Linked DNA regions of Homo sapiens: regions 2 and 3 are each linked to region 1. The links are contacts of gene promoters, found by promoter capture Hi-C in human tissues and cell types (Jung and others, 2019). All regions are on one chromosome and are shown on one strand. The core of a region is centred on a gene start or on the middle of the fragment in contact, and the rest is flanking DNA. Distances in the headings are between cores, read along the strand shown.

Region 1 (3,274 bases), core at 392-2,891:
CAATACATATGACAATTAAAACTCCTTGGACAGAATCCTAGATAAATCCACACACAACAAATTTCGGACTATGAAGATTCACATTATTAGACTCCAGTGCTCCCTGACAATCTGTTCTACTTCTCTCATTTCTAAGAATTTCTACCATACAAAAACGTCTTATTTCTCTACATCAGCACCCTTAGGTCAGTGACATCTCCCTCATCTCAGATATATTTAAATGCAATTGGATGAAGCAGTATACAGTACATCATCCTCGAAGCCTAACAGGTCTTCCACTTAGTATGCATCTCCCCACAGATTTCACAAGAATGAGCAAGATTAACATACACGTTCACCAGGTTATATCAAGCAAAATGATGCTGCAATTGAGTCACTTTAACTGGCGCATTTAGTCACATAAATGTGCAACTAATTTCCTTCATAAAAACCGACACAAAAATTTAAGGTTTAGTTGTTGTGATGACAAGGAATATCTCACGTCTGAAGACTTGTCGATATTTCCTTAAGACTTTACAAAATCAAAGAATCGAAAATGTCATGGTTCCATACATACTTGTCAAAACACAGTATTCATAAACAGCCAATTAATAATTAAAACGCACAAAATTGAGGGGCAAAAGATTTCACGAGATCCCCCACAGAGGCCAAGGTAGGAAGATCTCTGAAGCCAGGAGTTTTGGAAGCCGCCTGGGCACTATAGCGAGGCCTCATATCTACGAAAAAGAGAGGAGAGGAGAGAAGAGGAGAGAGAAAGAGAATCCCCCATAACTGCGGCCCTCCCCCAGCCTTGTGTTAAAACTATTTCCTCGGAACAGCTCTGAAAGAGTTTGCCAACCAGAGTAAAATCACTTCGCAGAGATAAACGAGCGGAAACGTATTCAGAAGAGAGAGATCGCGGAAGCAAGGGCAGCGGGGCGCGGGGCCCCCACGTCCCGGGACCCAGGCAGCCGCGGCAACCAGGGGCGAGCATGTGCTGACCGCGGCAGGACGCGCGGGCCTCCCAGAGCCACTTCCCGGGGCGCAGGGCCCCGCCCGGCCTGACCCTCCCGGTTCATTCATTCTGCACCCGCGGTTGCCGCACCTCCGCGGCCCCGTCGGGGCGGAGAAGAGGGGCTTGGCTGCCGAGGGACCTTGTCGGGCCACAATCCCCACCAGGCGCCCGAGCCCCGCCGCGATTCCCGCGCGCCCGCGGCCTCCGGCGGGGGGGTGGTCTCAGAAGCTATGGAGGCCCGCGCCCAAGCCCAGAGACCCCCAGCCTTGCCGCCCCACCCTCCGCCGGGGCGTGGGACAGCACTCCCTGGCCCGCCGGGCAGCCGCCTGGAAGCCCCGGGTCCCCGCTGTCCGGCTGCCCCGCCGCGGCCGGAAGTCTCCCCGGCGCCCCCTCCTCAGCACCCGACTTCCCTCGCCGCCGCGGCCAACCCCTCTCCGCGCCGCCTCGGGCCTCCCAGAGCGGGCCGCGGGCCGAAGGAGGCGAGAGGCCGCGCTGCCTGCCCAGCTGAGCCGACGAGAGCAGAGCGAAGAGCTGGAGGCCGGCCTGGGCGGTTACCTTGATGATCCTGCGGGGCAGCCCGGCCATCTTGTCAGAACCCGAGTTCGGCCTCTGGTCTCGTCTCCGGCTCCTCTCGCCTCACGCACGAGTGGAAGTCCCGGGCTCCACTTCCGGGGGACGTTGCCGCGCCCGTCGCCGCAGCCGCCGCCGAGGCCCCTCGGGAAATGTAGTCCCTGCTCGGGCGCGGGCTCGGGCACGGGCGGGCTTCCCTCCGACCTGGCCCCCTCCCCCGTGCGCCCCGCCCCAACCGCTGCCGGGGATGGCGGAAGTGACGCTCTGTTGCGGGGCAGGGACTTGGGACAGGCCGCGAGGGGAGGCGCGGGGCTCTGGCGCTCGTGGCCGAGCCTGCCCGCGACGGTGGTACGGCACGACCCGCGCGCGACTGCGCGCGCGTCTCTCTTAACCGTGGCCACGCCCGCGCCGGTGGACGACGTAACAGAGGCCTGGCCTACGACGTATCCCATTCATTCATTCACGCGTTCGTTCTTTCAGCTCACGCGTTCGTTCTTTCAGCTCAGCCTGCATTGCGCGCGTTCCCTGCTGGCTCTGCAGTGAACGACTGAGGTGGGGCTCATCGTCTTGCTCCTTCCTCAAAGGGAGGGCAAGACCGAAACTCGGTGGCAAAGCTCTGACTGGGGGTCTCTCCAGTTACTCACACGCTGTTGGGGGAGTTTTGATGTTTAAATTGTATAAATCGGACCTCTGACACGCCCCTAGGCCCAGGGTAGGCTGAAGGAAAAGGGTTTGGAGCGAGTTGGAGGCGGGAAGAATGGTTCTGAACGCCTAGACCTAAAGGTTGAGACTCAGAATTGTTAACAGGACGAATGACCAAGGAGAGGTTTAAAGAACCCAGAGTAATCCGTAAAGCAGAGATTACCTATAGAGTGCGAGGTCCTATGAGAGAATTAGAGTGGGGGTGCCCGAAAATTGAATTGTTGGGGAAGCGTTTTATCCTGATGACGGATGGTTTGCTGTGTGATGGACTGTTTGCAAGCACTTTACTTCATCTTCACAGCAATCGTGAGGAGGTGTTGTTTCCATTTTACAAATGAGGCTTAGATAGTTAACCTTTTCCAAGGAGCTGTTTTGTCCCCAGGCAGATCCGCCAAGACCTGGCCCTTAACTACTTAACCACAGTGTTTCCTAGCACACTAACAGACAGTAGATGGTGAATAAATGAAGACAAGACTGACCGTGCCTTCCAGGAACTTAGATTCCAATGGAGAAGAGAGACCAGTAAACAATTAGTTACAATCCAATGTGTTAAGGGCTGTCTGTAATACAGGTTCCTCCAAGGTGCTATTTTAGCAGAGAGGCATTAACTGCTTGAGAACTCAGGGAAGCCTTCTTAAATAAGTGAAGTCCTCAATGATGAGTAAGAACCTACCTGACCTTGTAGGGAAGAGTATGCCAAGCATAGGAAATGGCCTGTGAAATGGCATTGAGCTATGAGAGAGAAAAAATAGTGCACTAAAGAAACTGGAACTCTGAATACAAGAAACCTACTAAGAACAATAAGAAATATTTTGTGCTGGCACGATGCTAAATGGTTAATAAATTTAATACATCATTCAATTATGAAACAGATGAAGTAGTCTCTATTATTAACAGAACGTTTTAGATGAGAAGCCAAGGTTCAGAGGTAATAATGAGAATTTCAAATAACCAGAAGTCTGCAATAGGTGGTTCTGTGACTAGAAGAATCTGCAAAAGTAAATGAAA
Region 2 (3,274 bases), core at 407-2,906, 1.8 Mb after region 1:
ATAAGCACAGATTCATATAGGTGGGAAGTCTGTGTTAACAAAATTACTTCTCAAACATTACACAGTTTCGGGCTTTTGTGCCAATGCTTTGTGCCTCATACTCTCTTCTCTGTTAGTAGCTAGTGTGCCTGTGTTTTCTTGTTGCTTTTTGTGTTTAATATGGACTGCATGGCCCAAATGACATCTGACATCTGACAATAGTTAGCATTTTGCCAAACCTGATAGTGTGGTTTAGATATCATACTGACATTTTAAATAAAGGAATGTATAATAGTTGAAGTAGAGCATTAGTTTTTGGGTTGGTTTGGTTTGGGTTTTTTTGTTCGTTTGTTTTGTTTTTTGGGTTTTTTGAGACAGAGTCTCACTCTGTCGCCCAGGCTGGAGTGCAGTGACGCAATCTCGGCTCACTGCATCCTCTACTTCCCAAGCTCAAGCGGTCCTCCTGCCTCAGCCTCCTGAGTTGCTAAGAGCACAGGTGTGTACCACCATGTTTGACTAATTTTTGTATTTTTTGTGGAGACAGGGTTTTGCCATGTTGCTCAGACTGGTCTCAAATTCCTTGGCTCAAGTGATCTGCATGGCTTGACCTCCCAAAGTGCTGGGATTATAGGGGTGAGCCACTGCATCCACCCCATTGTTAGTTTTTATATGGGAAAGTGTATTGGCTCATTTTATTCATTTACTAAATTCTCATGTAATTAGGTACCTTCTTTTTTCTTTTTCTTTTTTTTTTCTTAGCAGACCTTAACTATGTTTTTCCACACAGATAACACATGAATATGTTCTCATTGTAAAACATTCACATAATACAGGGAAAGGATCAGCTCTCCCTTAATCCCCCTTTTCCTTTGCAGGTCCACCTTTCTCCACAGAAGTACCACTGTAATCACTTTCGTATATTTTCTTTTTTAAATTATTTTTTATTTTTATTTTTTATGTTTTTTGAGACAGAGTCTCACTCTCTTGCCGAGGCTGGAGTGCAGTGGCACAATCTTGGCTCACTGCAACCTCCGCCTCCCAGGTTCAAGTGATTCTCCCACCTCAGCCTCCCAAGTAGCTGGGACTACAGGTGTGTGCCACCACGCCTGGCTAATTTTTTTGTATTTTTAGTACACACAAGGTTTCACCATGTTGGCCAGGCTGGTCTCAAACTCCTGGCCTCAAGTGATCCCCCCACCTCGGCCTCCCAAAGTGCTGAGATTATAGGTGTGAGCCACTGTGCCTGGCCAATGTTGGTATATTTTCTTTCAGATTATTCTCAGCGCAATTACATTCATCTATATGTGTATGTGTATATATATATATGTGTGTGACATACATAAATATATTGTATAATTCCATTTTGTGGGTTTTTTAAAACACAAATGGGGTTTTTAAATGGCTAGTACTAGTCGATATTCTTGTATGTATATTTGGCATACTTTTATAATTGTATTCATAGACTGGAAGCTTAGTGGTAAAATTGCTAGGTCAACGGATATTTGCATTTATATTTTTATACCTATACTCCCACTAATAGTGTATGATGTATCTGTATTCCAACGTTGCCAAAACTGAGTATTCTCAGACTTCTTAATTATTGCCAACTAATAGGTAAAAATTGTGTCTTTGTTTCAATTTGCATTTCTTCAAAGGTGAAGTTTAACATGTTTTCATTCATATTGACCCATTTGTATTTTTTTCTTTGAACTGCTTCTTTATATCCTTTACCCATTTCTACAATTTAAAAAAATATTATTACTGGTTTATGTGGCCTTATTGTAAATTAAAAAACTGTTGCATCATGTTAGCCAAATTTTCTATCAATAATCTTTTTTTTTTTTTTTTTTTTGAGACAGAGTTTCGCTCTTGGCCCCCAGGCTAGAGTGCAATGGCGCGATCTGGGCTCACCGCAACCTCCCCGCCGGCCGGGTTCAAGCGATTCTCCTGCCTCAGCCTGCCGAGTAGCTGGGATTACAGGCATGCGCCACCACCCCCGGCTAATTTTTTTGTATTTTTTTAGTAGAGGCAGGGTTTCTCCATGGTGGTCAGGCTGGGTCTTGAACACCTAACCCCAGGTGATTTGCCCGCCTCAGCCTCCGAAAGTGCTGGGATTACAGACATGAGCCACCGCGCCAGGCTTCCATTTTCAGTGAGTTGTTTTTAAAACACATTAAGCTAGTTTTGAAAGTAGTTTTGTTTTTTTTGTTTTTTATTTATTTATTTATTTATTTTTTAATTGATCATTCTTGGGTGTGATTTGGCAGGGTCACAGGACAGTAGTGGAGGGAAGGTCAGCAGATAAACAAGTGAACAAAGGTCTCTGGTTTTCCTAGGCAGAGGACCCTGCGGCCTTCCGCAGTGTTTGTGTCCCTGGGTGCTTGAGATTAGGGAGTGGTAATGACTCTTAAGGAGCATGCTGCCTTCAAGCATCTGTTTAACAAAGCACATCTTGCACCGCCCTTAATCCATTCAACCCTGAGTGGACACAGCACATGTTTCAGAGAGCACAGGGTTGGGGGTAAGGTCACAGATCAACAGGATCCCAAGGCAGAAGAATTTTTCTTAGTACAGAACAAAATGAAAAGTCTCCCATGTCTACCTCTTTCTACACAGACACGGCAACCATCCGATTTCTCAATCTTTTCCCCACCTTTCCCCCCTTTCTATTCCACAAAACCGCCATTGTCATCATGGCCCGTTCTCAACGAGCTGTTGGGTACACCTCCCAGACGGGGTGGTGGCCGGGCAGAGGGGCTCCTCACTTCCCAGTAGGGGCGGCCGGGCAGAGGCGCCCCTCACCTCCCGGACAGGGCGGCTGGCCGGGCGGGGGCTGACCCCCACCCACCTCCCTCCCGGACGGGGCGGCTGGCCGGGCAGAGGGGCTCCTCACTTCCCAGTAGGGGCGGCCGGGCAGAGGCGCCCCTCACCTCCCGGACGGGGCGGCTGGCTGGGCGGGAGGCTGACCTCCCCACCTCCCTCCCGGACGGGGCGGCTGGCCGGGCAGAGGGGCTCCTCACTTCCCAGTAGGGGCGGCCGGGCAGAGGCGCCCCTCACCTCCCGGACGGGGCAGCTGGCCGGGCGGGGGGCTGACCCCCCGACCTCCCTCCCGGACGGGGCGGCTGGCCGGGCAGAGGGGCTCCTCACTTCCCAGTAGGGCCGGCCGGGCAGAGGCACCCCTCACCTCCCGGATGGGGCGGCTGGCCGGGCGGGGGGCTGACCCCCACCTCCCTCCCGGACGGGGCGGCTGGCCGGGCGGGGGGCTGACCCCCACCTCCCTCCCGGACGGGGTGGT
Region 3 (3,274 bases), core at 442-2,941, 1.4 Mb after region 1:
ATCATTAATGTTAAATAGTAATATTAACTGTAAATCCCTGCATTTATATTGAAGATAGCAATTACATAAGAAAAGATATTAGAGAACTGGCTTAGCCAAAATCCACAGGAGAAAATAAAATTTGCGTTTTGGCTAATCACAAGCCCAACACGTGTCAGCACTGCAATGTAGCTGATAAGTAACTAACACCACTGGGCAGCCCTCACCCAGAGCAAAGGAGCTAACAGGCTCACAAAACTCTCCCAGCCAGGCCATATCTGATGTGTAGGTTTGATTTAGGCACAAAAGATATAGACAATCGGAATTGCATCTAGCAAGAAGTGACTATCACAGCTGTAAGTCTGGAATCCAAATTAAACACAAAATAGTTGATAGAACAGGTGGCAACCATGGAAGTGATGGTTTAAGGTACTCTTCGATATTTGAAGAGCTGCCAATAAAGAATGGCACTAGTTGTTTTGTGTCACCAACGGGTGAAATTTACAGGGGAGGCTAAGTTAGGCTCCATACATAAAATGATTTTCCAATACTTAAAATTATCCAAGAATTGATCCCACGGGCTTGAAAAGTTTTAAGCTTTCTTTTTGAAAGTGCCTGGGAGCCAGAAGATTATCAACCAACAAGAGCAATCTAAGGATTCCTCTGGTGGGTGAAGGGATGCACTCTGAAGTTTCAAGGCCCCTTTCAGCATCAAGAATCTGCAATTCTATGGTTCTGACTATAGCTGAGCTTCATCAGATTAGTAGACAGAGCCCAGTGCTACCCTCTCCTCCCACTCATTTTTGCATGGTGAATGGTAAATATTCTTGGGGCGAGGCGCAGTGGCTCACGCCTGTAATCCCAGCACTTTGGGAGGCCGAGGCAGGCGAATCACAAGGTCAGGAGATCGAAACCATCCTGGCCAACATGGTGAAACCTTGTCTCTAAAAAAAAATACAAAAATTAGCTGGGTGTGGTGGCATGTGCCTGTAATCCCAGCTACTTGGGAGGCTGAGGCAGGAGAATTGCTTGAACCAGGGAGTCGGAGGTTGCAGTGAGCTGAGATCGCACCACTGCACTCCAGCCTGGCGACAGAGCAAGACTCCATCTCAAAATAAATAAATAAATAAATTCTTGGTAGACTCTGGAAAAAATGATCAAATAATACTTGTGTCTCCAATATTAACTAATTTGTGTTAAATACCCTTTTATTCTACTTAAACTCTTGTATTTCTTATCTGCAAAAGGACCTAAATGAGAAGATAAAGGTAAATTAACTCTGAAAACCTTTAAAGCAATGTAAGGGATATTTTTATAATTATTGATGTTTATCAATAAGTAGAGAAGCACTCAACTAATTTTTTAAAAAAGAAAAATTTGCATATAAAGCAGTCATTTTTCTTATCTGACTTCAATTGTAAATTGCTGAGGAAGGTCTAATTTCACCTTCTATCTCAAGATTTGGTAGCCAAAGTTACCAAAGGCCTGCATAGTTACCAAAGGCCTGAACACACAATTCCAGGAAGGTGCCCAACACAGTGTATTAGCAAGAGAACTTGGAGGCTGGGCTTTGCCTTCTGTCCTCAAACAGGAATAAATGTAGATCCAGGGAGAATGAAAGAGTAAAAATTGGGACATCTAAACTAAGAATAAACCAAAGAGACAGGAATATTTGGGTGCTAAGAGGCAAAGGCCAAACACAAACTATAAAAGAAAAAATTGATTAACTGGACTTCAGAATTAAAAGCTCTCTTCAAAAGTCACCATTAAGAAAATTAATTAATTACTCTACATATTTACCAGTGAAAGAAAAGGAAAATGAAATGCAAGCCACAGATGGGTGAAAATATTTATAAATGATATCTGATAAGGCACTTATATCCAGAATATATAAAGAACTCTCACAACTCAATAATAAGACAAGGAACTCAATTTAAAAATAGGCCAGGCCGGGTGTGGTGGCTCACGCCTGTAATCCCTGAACTTTGAGAGGCCAAGGCAGGCAGATCACCTGAGGTCAGGAGTTCAAGACCAGCCTGATCAACATAGTGAAACTCCGTTTCTACTAAAAATACACAAATTAGCCAAGCATGGTAGAGCATGCCTGTAATCCCAGCTACTTGGGAGTCTGGGGCAGGAGAATCGCTTGAACCTAGGAGGCAGAGGTTGCAGTGAGCCAAGACTGTGCCACTGCACTCCCACCTAGGTGACAGAGCAAGACTTCACCTTAAAAATAAATAAATAAATAAATAAAAATAAAAATAGGCCAAAAATTGAATGGACATTTCACCAAAGAAAATATATAAACAGCTGAGTGGGTTCCAAGATGGCCGAATAGGAACAGCTCCAGTCTACAGCTCTCAGCGTAAGTGACCCAGAAGACAGATGATTTCTGCACTTCCATCTGAGGTACCGGGTTCATTTCACTGGGGCTTGTCAGACAGTGGGTGCAGCCCAGGGAGTGTTAGGTGAAGCAGGGCGGGGCATCGCTTCACCCGGGAAACACAAAGGGTCGGGGAATTCCCTTTCCTAGCCAAGGGAAGCCGTGACAGATAGCACCTGGAAAATCGGGACACTCCCACCCTAATACTGCGCTTTTCCAATGGTCTTAGCAAACAGCACACCAGGAGATTTTATCCCACGCCTGGCTCGGAGGGTCCCAAGCCCACGGAGCCTTGCTCACTGCCAGCACAGCAGTCTAAGATCGAACTGCAAGGTAGCAGCAAGGCTAGGGGAGGGGCATCTGCCATTGCTTAAGCCTGAGTAGGTAAACAAAGCGGCCCAGAAACTCGAACTGGGTGGAGCCCACTGCAGCTCAAGGAGGCCTGCCTGCCACTGTAGACACCACCTCTGGGGGCAGGGCATAGCTGAACAAAAAGCAGCAGAAACTTCTGCAGACTTACACGTCCCTGTCTGACAGCATTGAAGAGAGTAGTGGTTCTCCCAGCACGGAGTTTGAGATGTGAGAACGGACAGACTGCCTCCTCAAGTGGGTCCCTGACCTCCAAGTAGCCTAACTGGGAGACACCTTCCAGTAGGGGGCCGACTGACACCTCATACAGCCAGGTGCCCCTCTGAGACAAAGCTTCCAGAGGAAGGAATATTTGCTGTTCTGTAATATTTGCTGTTCTGCAGCCTCCGCTGGTGATACCCAGGCAAACAGGGTTGGAGTGGACCTCCAGCAAACTCCAACAGACCTGCAGCTGAGGGTCCTCACTGTTAGAAAGAAAACTAACAAACAGAAAGGACATCCACACCAAAACCCCATCTGTACGTCACCATCATCAAAGACCAA

The links. Contacts are between HindIII fragments. The study calls those that stand out against the background at their distance.
Region 2: a fragment that was not itself captured here is called in contact with the fragment with the promoter of UBE2N in region 1 in 1 of the 25 tissues and cell types used here (stomach).
Region 3: a contact is called between a fragment that was not itself captured here and the fragment with the promoter of UBE2N in region 1, in 1 of the 25 tissues and cell types used here (ovary).

Annotation. Positions count from the first base shown.
Region 1 is chr12:93,440,306-93,443,579 of GRCh38, forward strand. UBE2N (ubiquitin conjugating enzyme E2 N) reads right to left here and starts at 1,642. Exons shown (of 4, transcript NM_003348.4): 1 at 1,550-1,642. The coding sequence starts at 1,579. RefSeq lists silencers at 858-977, 1,008-1,147, 1,298-1,507, 1,588-2,047 and an enhancer at 1,540-2,177. The HindIII fragment of the contact is 20,755 bases long and covers 1-3,274 here.
Region 2 is chr12:95,232,474-95,235,747 of GRCh38, forward strand. The region is part of intron 1 of VEZT (vezatin, adherens junctions transmembrane protein); the gene reads left to right. Among named protein-coding and RNA genes, the nearest start is that of VEZT, 16 kb to the left of the region's middle. The HindIII fragment of the contact is 9,678 bases long and covers 1-3,274 here.
Region 3 is chr12:94,820,523-94,823,796 of GRCh38, forward strand. No RefSeq gene overlaps it. Among named protein-coding and RNA genes, the nearest start is that of MIR492, 12 kb to the right of the region's middle. The HindIII fragment of the contact is 3,239 bases long and covers 73-3,274 here.